2 separate regions of the Homo sapiens genome follow, and region 1 is linked to region 2. The links are contacts of gene promoters, found by promoter capture Hi-C in human tissues and cell types (Jung and others, 2019). All regions are on one chromosome and are shown on one strand. The core of a region is centred on a gene start or on the middle of the fragment in contact, and the rest is flanking DNA. Distances in the headings are between cores, read along the strand shown.

What was found. Contacts are between HindIII fragments. The study calls those that stand out against the background at their distance.
Region 1: a contact is called between a fragment that was not itself captured here and the fragment with the promoter of HSPA5 in region 2, in 1 of the 25 tissues and cell types used here (mesenchymal stem cells).

What each region holds. Positions count from the first base shown.
Region 1 is chr9:124,656,440-124,660,496 of GRCh38, reverse strand. The region is part of intron 2 of NR6A1 (nuclear receptor subfamily 6 group A member 1); the gene reads left to right. It overlaps MIR181A2HG (MIR181A2 host gene), which reads right to left and starts at 2,061. Exons shown (of 2, transcript NR_038975.1): 1 at 1,756-2,061. RefSeq lists enhancers at 1,024-1,073, 1,895-2,014. The HindIII fragment of the contact is 3,606 bases long and covers 428-4,033 here.
Region 2 is chr9:125,238,469-125,242,761 of GRCh38, reverse strand. It overlaps HSPA5 (heat shock protein family A (Hsp70) member 5), which reads left to right and starts at 1,419. Exons shown (of 8, transcript NM_005347.5): 1 at 1,419-1,757; 2 at 1,855-2,086; 3 at 2,453-2,590; 4 at 3,229-3,341; 5 at 3,431-3,821; 6 at 3,935-4,172. The coding sequence starts at 1,636. HSPA5-DT (HSPA5 divergent transcript) reads right to left here and starts at 1,106. Exons shown (of 3, transcript NR_186826.1): 1 at 699-1,106. RefSeq lists enhancers at 821-1,130, 780-1,284, 1,098-1,392, 1,285-1,789, 1,931-2,010. The HindIII fragment of the contact is 17,872 bases long and covers 1-4,293 here.

The sequences.
Region 1 (4,057 bases), core at 981-3,480, 580 kb after region 2:
TAAAGAATTGCTGTCTGGTTTCTATTCAAATCCAGGTAGCGAGATATATGAATGGACTTTTCGAATCGTCATGTGAATAACGTCTGCTCGGCATGAAGGCTCAGAGCCATGCTAGGAAGGATTAACTCGTAGGCTGACCACTAACATCCTTTGTGGTACGAGGGAGAAACATTCCCAAGTATCATTTTATTCACACTTAATTTTCTATCCCATACCCCCAAAATAAGGCTAGCTATTTAATTAGTTGGCTGCTTTTCTCTTAATTTTTAGTGTTTCTGTTGATAATGTGTAAGTTTGGGAAAATGCTAAGTAGCTTTTCACTTAGAACACTGTTATTTTCTCTTTAAAGTTTTCTACCTTACATTTATTATAGCATAGTTATCTTTATAGCATAGATGCAGAAAGTAAGAGAGAGCTTGTTTTTTCAAGAAAACAACCCTTTAAAATACTTTCCAACCCATGAAGGGAAAAATCCTCCTTTTTTCCCCCAAGTGCATTCTACTTATTACTTTGCATTTTTCTCCCAAAGTCCAAATTTATGCAAAGAAAATAGAAACAAGTTCAAATGCAATGCATTAACCAAATAAAACAAGTCTGCTTCAAATTAGGAACCAACCTAAGCATTTGTAAAGTGTAGCAGAATCAGAATTCTTTTAAAAATTAGATTTGGAACCTGAACTATATAATTCATAATTCTCATTTTTCTGTGGAAAATTATTTTATCTTTCTCCTGTATACCTGAAAAAATGTCCATAGGCTTAAAGGGTCATGCTTTTACATTCCTTCCATATCACAGGTACTATGAAGTAAGGAGACTTTTAGGTTTCTTTTTGTCTTAAACTCAGACAGCTTTGTAAGCAGTAGTGTGTAGATTACAAGAGTTAGACAAAAGCAGGCGCGACTGAGAAGAGTTGGTGGGGGAGAAGCTTGGGGCACTTCCTGTCACTCAACACATTCCAGATCACTAAAAAATTTCCACACCCTCTGCATTCCCCCTTGCCCACTCCAGTTCCCGGTATTTTCTGATTCCATATGTTGTGGTATTTACCATACTTCTCTCCCTCACTAGGCTCTGGCAAGACTGCTTCAGAGGGGATGCATTCCTTTAGATTGCACAAAGCGGAGCTGGGAAAATGGCTGGCAGTTTCAGAATCTAGTCACGATCGCACGCATGAGCACCTCACACATCCATGTCCCTACCCGCCCCCCCGCTCCCGCCCCTGCAGCTGGCTGACCTGTCTCACCCACTGCTGGCCTATCGAACGGCCAGGACTGTCTGGTTTTGGCTCGTGCCTTTGTCCATGTCTGGCTTAGTTCCTCTCTGTCTATGCTTGCCTCTACCCCCACCGCCCCAGGCGGCACAAGTGTTTGGCCACACAAAACTAGAGATAGAAAAGGTGGTAAAAACTTCAAACTTTTCTAAATTCTCCAACAGTTTATTTCTTGTGAATTTCTTCCTTCTTTAAATACTCCATTTTAAGAAAACAAAAAAATTAATTATCTAAAGGCAAAGAATGGAAAGCAACCTTTGTGTTCCTTATAATAACTGACTTCATAACTCTCTCCAGCTGCGTTATGGGATGTGTATAAAAAGCTTCTGTTCTGAGAACAAAGGAGCACGTGCAGAAATGAGACGAAAAAATCCACTGACAGTATTCCATTACACAAATTACTTAAAAGATTTTAGTCAAGCCCCTCAACAGATTCAATTTTAAAATGGCTTTTAGTTAAAAAAAAAAAATTGAAAGTGCTTACCCAGTAAAAGAACCGAAGTAGTCCTGAACTGTTACGTAAGACTTTTTACAGTTGGATCTTTGTCAAAAGGGGATGGGGGTGATGGGAGAAAGCAGCAACGACAATCAAAAAAGTTCGAGCTGCTGTGGCTAGAGGACAACTTCTGTGTTTCCAGATAGGATTCTTGCTGTAGAAATGGAACTTCCAGCCAGCACAGCATCCTGTCCCAGTAGAGAAATGAGTTTGTCAGTTAAAACAAAAAAAAAATTAGATACTGGAACCCAGGCTAGACGAGGTATTGAACCGCGCCAGATTTCCTTGCAGCCCTGTCTGCTCAGCTCGCATTGAACTATATATGACCCAGATGATGGACAGAAGCACATTTAGTCATGTGCACACTGGAAGAAAGCGGATTTGCTGGTCCCTGGCAGTGCAGGGGTTTGTCTTCTGATTGGGCTGTGCCCTGATCGGTGAAATGTGAAGCCCTCACCATTCAGAGGCCGTAATTCAGGACTGGCAGTTTGAGTGTCTGGCTGCCTCTAGTCACTGAGAGACTTTGAAGGTGTTGCTTTTGTTTGGTGGCATTACCCACCCAGAGGTTGCTTACACCTCTCTACTTGTGTCAGAAGAAATACTAGTCTTTCTGAAATACAAATAGGCAGCCGATTTTTCCTGAATCCTAAATCACCCTATTGTTGATAAACTTGGCTCTAACTGAAACCAATTATTTGATTTGAAAATTTATTGTGATCCTAACCAAGCTTCATATCCAGACCAACCCTTGGTCTTGATTTTATAGGTTTGATAAGGTAAAAATAAAAGTGGCATATTTGACTTTGAAGCCTCTATATGATATAAATTGCTCTTAATGAAAATTGGATAGATGGACAACAGAGAAGTGAAGTTTTAGATTCTGGAGTGTTTGGATGTATGAGGAAGAAGCTTTATGTCTTTTTATCCCCTTTGTGAGACTGTCACTCTTGTCCCAGTCCTAGTCACATTAGGGGTTGCTGGGGGGGGGAAGCTATGAAAGCATGGACCCTACTGAGCTGTGACATAGCCTTTAATCATGCAAGACAGCCACGGTCTGCTCTCTTCAGTCTGTCTGAACTAGGGTCCTTGGGGTTTATTTTCCATCTTTCTGAGCCACTGGGAAACCAGGTCATTATACAGGACTGTCATTTGTGACATTTTTGTTTAGTACATGGCAGTTGCTTTGTTTATTTAATGCAAGTTGACACTTCTTTAAAGTTTCAAAACAGTAAAGTTGTTTTGTGAGACCTTGACTCTGATATATGAAATCTACTCTACATGGACCAATCATTTTTTTCCGTGGACTTTCTTGTCTCTTTAGAAATTAGCTTATAGAGTCCTAAATTGATACTTAAACATACCAATAGTTCTGTTTATTTCTTGCCTTTCTCACAGTTGTTGAAATAATTCCATCTGTCTCTTTTGCTGTAAATTTTGGGTTTGGATGTTTGTACTTGGAATTTTTTAGATGTTGACTATATTATGCAGCACCTTCCATATGAGGACTACCCCAGAATTATTCTCTTGTCTTAACCCGAGAAAAGCTGTTTTGATGCACTATTAGATATAAGAATGTTCGAAAGAAGAGGAGATGAGCACTCTCTTGCTTTTTGTAAGCCACAAGACAATCTTTTTTTTTTCTAAGTTGTGGTAAGGTATATGTAACATAAAATTGACTGTTGTAATAATTTTTAAGTGTATAGTTCTGTGGTGTTAAGTGCATTCACGTTGTTTTGCAGCCTTCACCACCATCCATCCACCACAGAACTCTTCTCCTCTTGCAAAACTGAAATTCTCTACCTACCTGTTAAACACTAACTTGCCATTCTTCCCTCCCCCAGGCCCTGGGGACAACCATCATTCTACTTTCTCTTTGATTTTTTGTTTTTTGTTTTTGGAGACGGAATTTTACTCTTGTTGCCCAAGCTGGGATGCAATGGCACTGTCTTGGCTCACTGCAACTTCCGCCTCCTGGGTTCAAGCAATTCTCCTTCCTCAGCCTCCTGAGTAGCTGGGACTACAGGTGCCCACCACCACGCCTGGCTAGTTTTTGTATTTTTAGTAGACACGGGGTTTCACCATGTTGGCCAGGCTGGTCTCGAACTCGTGATCTCAAGTGATCCACCCACCTTGGCCTCCCAAAATCCTAGAATTACAGGCATGAGCCCACCGTGCCTAGCCTCTGTCTGTTTGCTTTTTGACTACTCTAGATACCTCATATAAGTGGAATAATACAAGATGTGTTCCCTTTTGACAGGCTTATTTCACTTAGCATGGTGTCCTCAAGGTT
Region 2 (4,293 bases), core at 170-2,669:
TGGTGCGTGCCTGTAATCCCAGCTACTCAGGAGGCTGAGGCAGGAGAATCGCTTGAACCCCGGAAGCGGAGGTTGCAGTGAGCTGAGATTGCACTACTGAACTCCAGCCTGGGCGTGACAGAGTGATACTCCGTCTTGAAAAAAAAAAAAGTATTGGCAATAGAGTGAACTCCACCTGGTTATCAATCCTAACTCCATCACTCACCAGCTCTGTGACTTGTTTAGTTATTTAATCTTTTTCAGTTTCAATGTCCTCATCTGGAAAACGGGAAATGCCTACCGAGTATTGAACTGTCAAGACTAAATGACACATGAAAAGCACACTGAACAATGCTTAATCCACGGTAGGCTTTCAGCAAATAGTGGTCTCTATTATTTTTTGCAACAGGATGTTATATAAGAATAAGGCATTATCAAGACGATTTTCGCCTATCAAATGTGTTGTCTGCGTGTACATCAGACCTTTTCCTGGAATGAAGGTAGAAAAGTATCAACAATAAAGGATGGAGAAAGCCCCGTAAATGATAACCTTTGCCCCAGAGGGAAAGGATGGGCAGCGGAGGGGAAAGTAAAGGGTGGCAAGCTAGAAAAATTAGACATCCAGTGTGGGAGGGCTGGCACTGGAGTGGGTTGCCACAGTAGGGAGGGGACTCAGAGCTGGAGGCAATTCCTTTGGCCGGGCTTGTCCTGCGACTTACCGTGGGGCAGCGCAATGTGGAGAGGCCTGGTAAAATGGCTGGGCAAGGGTGCGGAGGGGACATAACTGGCAGGAAGGAGTCATGATTCGTGGTCGAACAGAGTCCAGACCAGCTCGACCTGTGAGCAACGAACGGCCCTGAGACTCGCATACCCCAATACCGGTAGTGGCCGTGAAGGGCAAAGAAATGTGTTCTGAGGCGATCCCAGCATCTAAGCTGCGACTGGTCTACTCAGAGACTGGATGGAAGCTGGGAAGAGAAAGCTGCTTCCCGCTTCGGGGTGAGGGATGGAGGAAGGGAGAACAAGCAGTAGAGAAGAAAAAGTTTCAGATCCCACAGCCCCGGGGGGTCACTCCTGCTGGACCTACTCCGACCCCCTAGGGCCGGGAGTGAAGGCGGGACTTGTGCGGTTACCAGCGGAAATGCCTCGGGGTCAGAAGTCGCAGGAGAGATAGACAGCTGCTGAACCAATGGGACCAGCGGATGGGGCGGATGTTATCTACCATTGGTGAACGTTAGAAACGAATAGCAGCCAATGAATCAGCTGGGGGGGGCGGAGCAGTGACGTTTATTGCGGAGGGGGCCGCTTCGAATCGGCGGCGGCCAGCTTGGTGGCCTGGGCCAATGAACGGCCTCCAACGAGCAGGGCCTTCACCAATCGGCGGCCTCCACGACGGGGCTGGGGGAGGGTATATAAGCCGAGTAGGCGACGGTGAGGTCGACGCCGGCCAAGACAGCACAGACAGATTGACCTATTGGGGTGTTTCGCGAGTGTGAGAGGGAAGCGCCGCGGCCTGTATTTCTAGACCTGCCCTTCGCCTGGTTCGTGGCGCCTTGTGACCCCGGGCCCCTGCCGCCTGCAAGTCGGAAATTGCGCTGTGCTCCTGTGCTACGGCCTGTGGCTGGACTGCCTGCTGCTGCCCAACTGGCTGGCAAGATGAAGCTCTCCCTGGTGGCCGCGATGCTGCTGCTGCTCAGCGCGGCGCGGGCCGAGGAGGAGGACAAGAAGGAGGACGTGGGCACGGTGGTCGGCATCGACCTGGGGACCACCTACTCCTGGTAAGTGGGGTTGCGGATGCAGGGGGACGGGGCGTGGCCGCCTGGCCTGGCGTGAGAAGTGCGGTGCTGATGTCCCTCTGTCGGGTTTTTCTGCCAGCGTCGGCGTGTTCAAGAACGGCCGCGTGGAGATCATCGCCAACGATCAGGGCAACCGCATCACGCCGTCCTATGTCGCCTTCACTCCTGAAGGGGAACGTCTGATTGGCGATGCCGCCAAGAACCAGCTCACCTCCAACCCCGAGAACACGGTCTTTGACGCCAAGCGGCTCATCGGCCGCACGTGGAATGACCCGTCTGTGCAGCAGGACATCAAGTTCTTGCCGTTCAAGGTTCGACCGGGTTTTTCTCATCCAGTTAGAGAACGGGTGGGTGGTGGGAGTATTTAGAGTTATAAGTCTCTGGAAAAGTGTTGAGACAACAGTTGAAGGTTATAGACATGATGTATGTAATAACTTTAATACTATTAGTATGTTACAAAACTTAAGACAGTTGCTGTCGTACTGTCTACGATAGTTTAGGAATAAAAGACCGATTAAAACTGAACTTTGTAAGACACCTATACTCCCTGAAGTATTTCTAGTCAATTTGCAGCCCCAAGGGACCAAAATAAACCAAATTGTGGGGATGGTAGTGGGTCTTTTAAACTTTGAGATGTCATTGTATCTGTGTCTGAAAACAATAATTCTTTAAAATAGGTGGTTGAAAAGAAAACTAAACCATACATTCAAGTTGATATTGGAGGTGGGCAAACAAAGACATTTGCTCCTGAAGAAATTTCTGCCATGGTTCTCACTAAAATGAAAGAAACCGCTGAGGCTTATTTGGGAAAGAAGGTAAATATTTCTAGAACAATGTTAAGTATTTTTTGATCATTAGTATTCTCGGTTGGCTGTTATGTATAGAAGCCTTCGTGAAGGGTTTCAAAAATTTTAATCAGAATGGTATTCATGCTTGTCAGGTTTAATTATTGAGTCCCTTACTATAAGCCAAACAAAATAGACTTTTCATGTATTATTTAATGCTTACAATTCCAGGGACATAAAATTTTATATGTTGTATTCATCAATAAGTTGGCTTAAAAACTAAAGTGATGGTTTGACTGTAATTTTTTTTTTTTGAGATGGAGTCTTGCTCTGTTGCCCAGGCTGGACTGCAGTGGCACGATCTCAGCTCACTGCAACCTCTGCCTCCCGGGTTCAAGCAGCTCTCCTGCCTCAGCCTCCCAAGTAACTGGAACTACAGGCACACCACCACACCTGGCTAATTTTTTTTTTTTTTTTTAATTTTCAGTAGAGACAGGGTTTCTCCACATTGCCCAGGCTGGTCTTGAAATCCTGCCCTCAGGTGATCCTCCTGCCTCAGCCTCCCAAAGTGCTGGGATTATAGGCAGAAGCCACCGCCTGGCCAGACTGTAATTTAAATAAGGGTTAAACTATGTGACAATACACTTAATTATCTTTTATCCTTTTAGGTTACCCATGCAGTTGTTACTGTACCAGCCTATTTTAATGATGCCCAACGCCAAGCAACCAAAGACGCTGGAACTATTGCTGGCCTAAATGTTATGAGGATCATCAACGAGCCGTAAGTATGAAATTCAGGGATACGGCATATTTGCCAAATAGTGGAAATGTGAAGTACTGACAAAACTTTTCCCTTTTTCAATCTAATAGTACGGCAGCTGCTATTGCTTATGGCCTGGATAAGAGGGAGGGGGAGAAGAACATCCTGGTGTTTGACCTGGGTGGCGGAACCTTCGATGTGTCTCTTCTCACCATTGACAATGGTGTCTTCGAAGTTGTGGCCACTAATGGAGATACTCATCTGGGTGGAGAAGACTTTGACCAGCGTGTCATGGAACACTTCATCAAACTGTACAAAAAGAAGACGGGCAAAGATGTCAGGAAAGACAATAGAGCTGTGCAGAAACTCCGGCGCGAGGTAGAAAAGGCCAAACGGGCCCTGTCTTCTCAGCATCAAGCAAGAATTGAAATTGAGTCCTTCTATGAAGGAGAAGACTTTTCTGAGACCCTGACTCGGGCCAAATTTGAAGAGCTCAACATGGTATGTTCCTTGTTTTCTGCTTTGCTAATGAGATCTCCTTAGACTCTGAATTCAGGACATTGCATCTAGATACTTAGATAACAGACATCACAGTAACCATGTCTTTTTTCTAGGATCTGTTCCGGTCTACTATGAAGCCCGTCCAGAAAGTGTTGGAAGATTCTGATTTGAAGAAGTCTGATATTGATGAAATTGTTCTTGTTGGTGGCTCGACTCGAATTCCAAAGATTCAGCAACTGGTTAAAGAGTTCTTCAATGGCAAGGAACCATCCCGTGGCATAAACCCAGATGAAGCTGTAGCGTATGGTGCTGCTGTCCAGGCTGGTGTGCTCTCTGGTGATCAAGATACAGGTAGGTCATCATCGCAGCATCTTTCTTAGTGATTCAGTAGCTTGATGGAAGACTCATTAGCTATTGCTTTAGAAAATACCAGAATATGAGCAACAAGGTCACACAGCTAGTAAAGGGTATA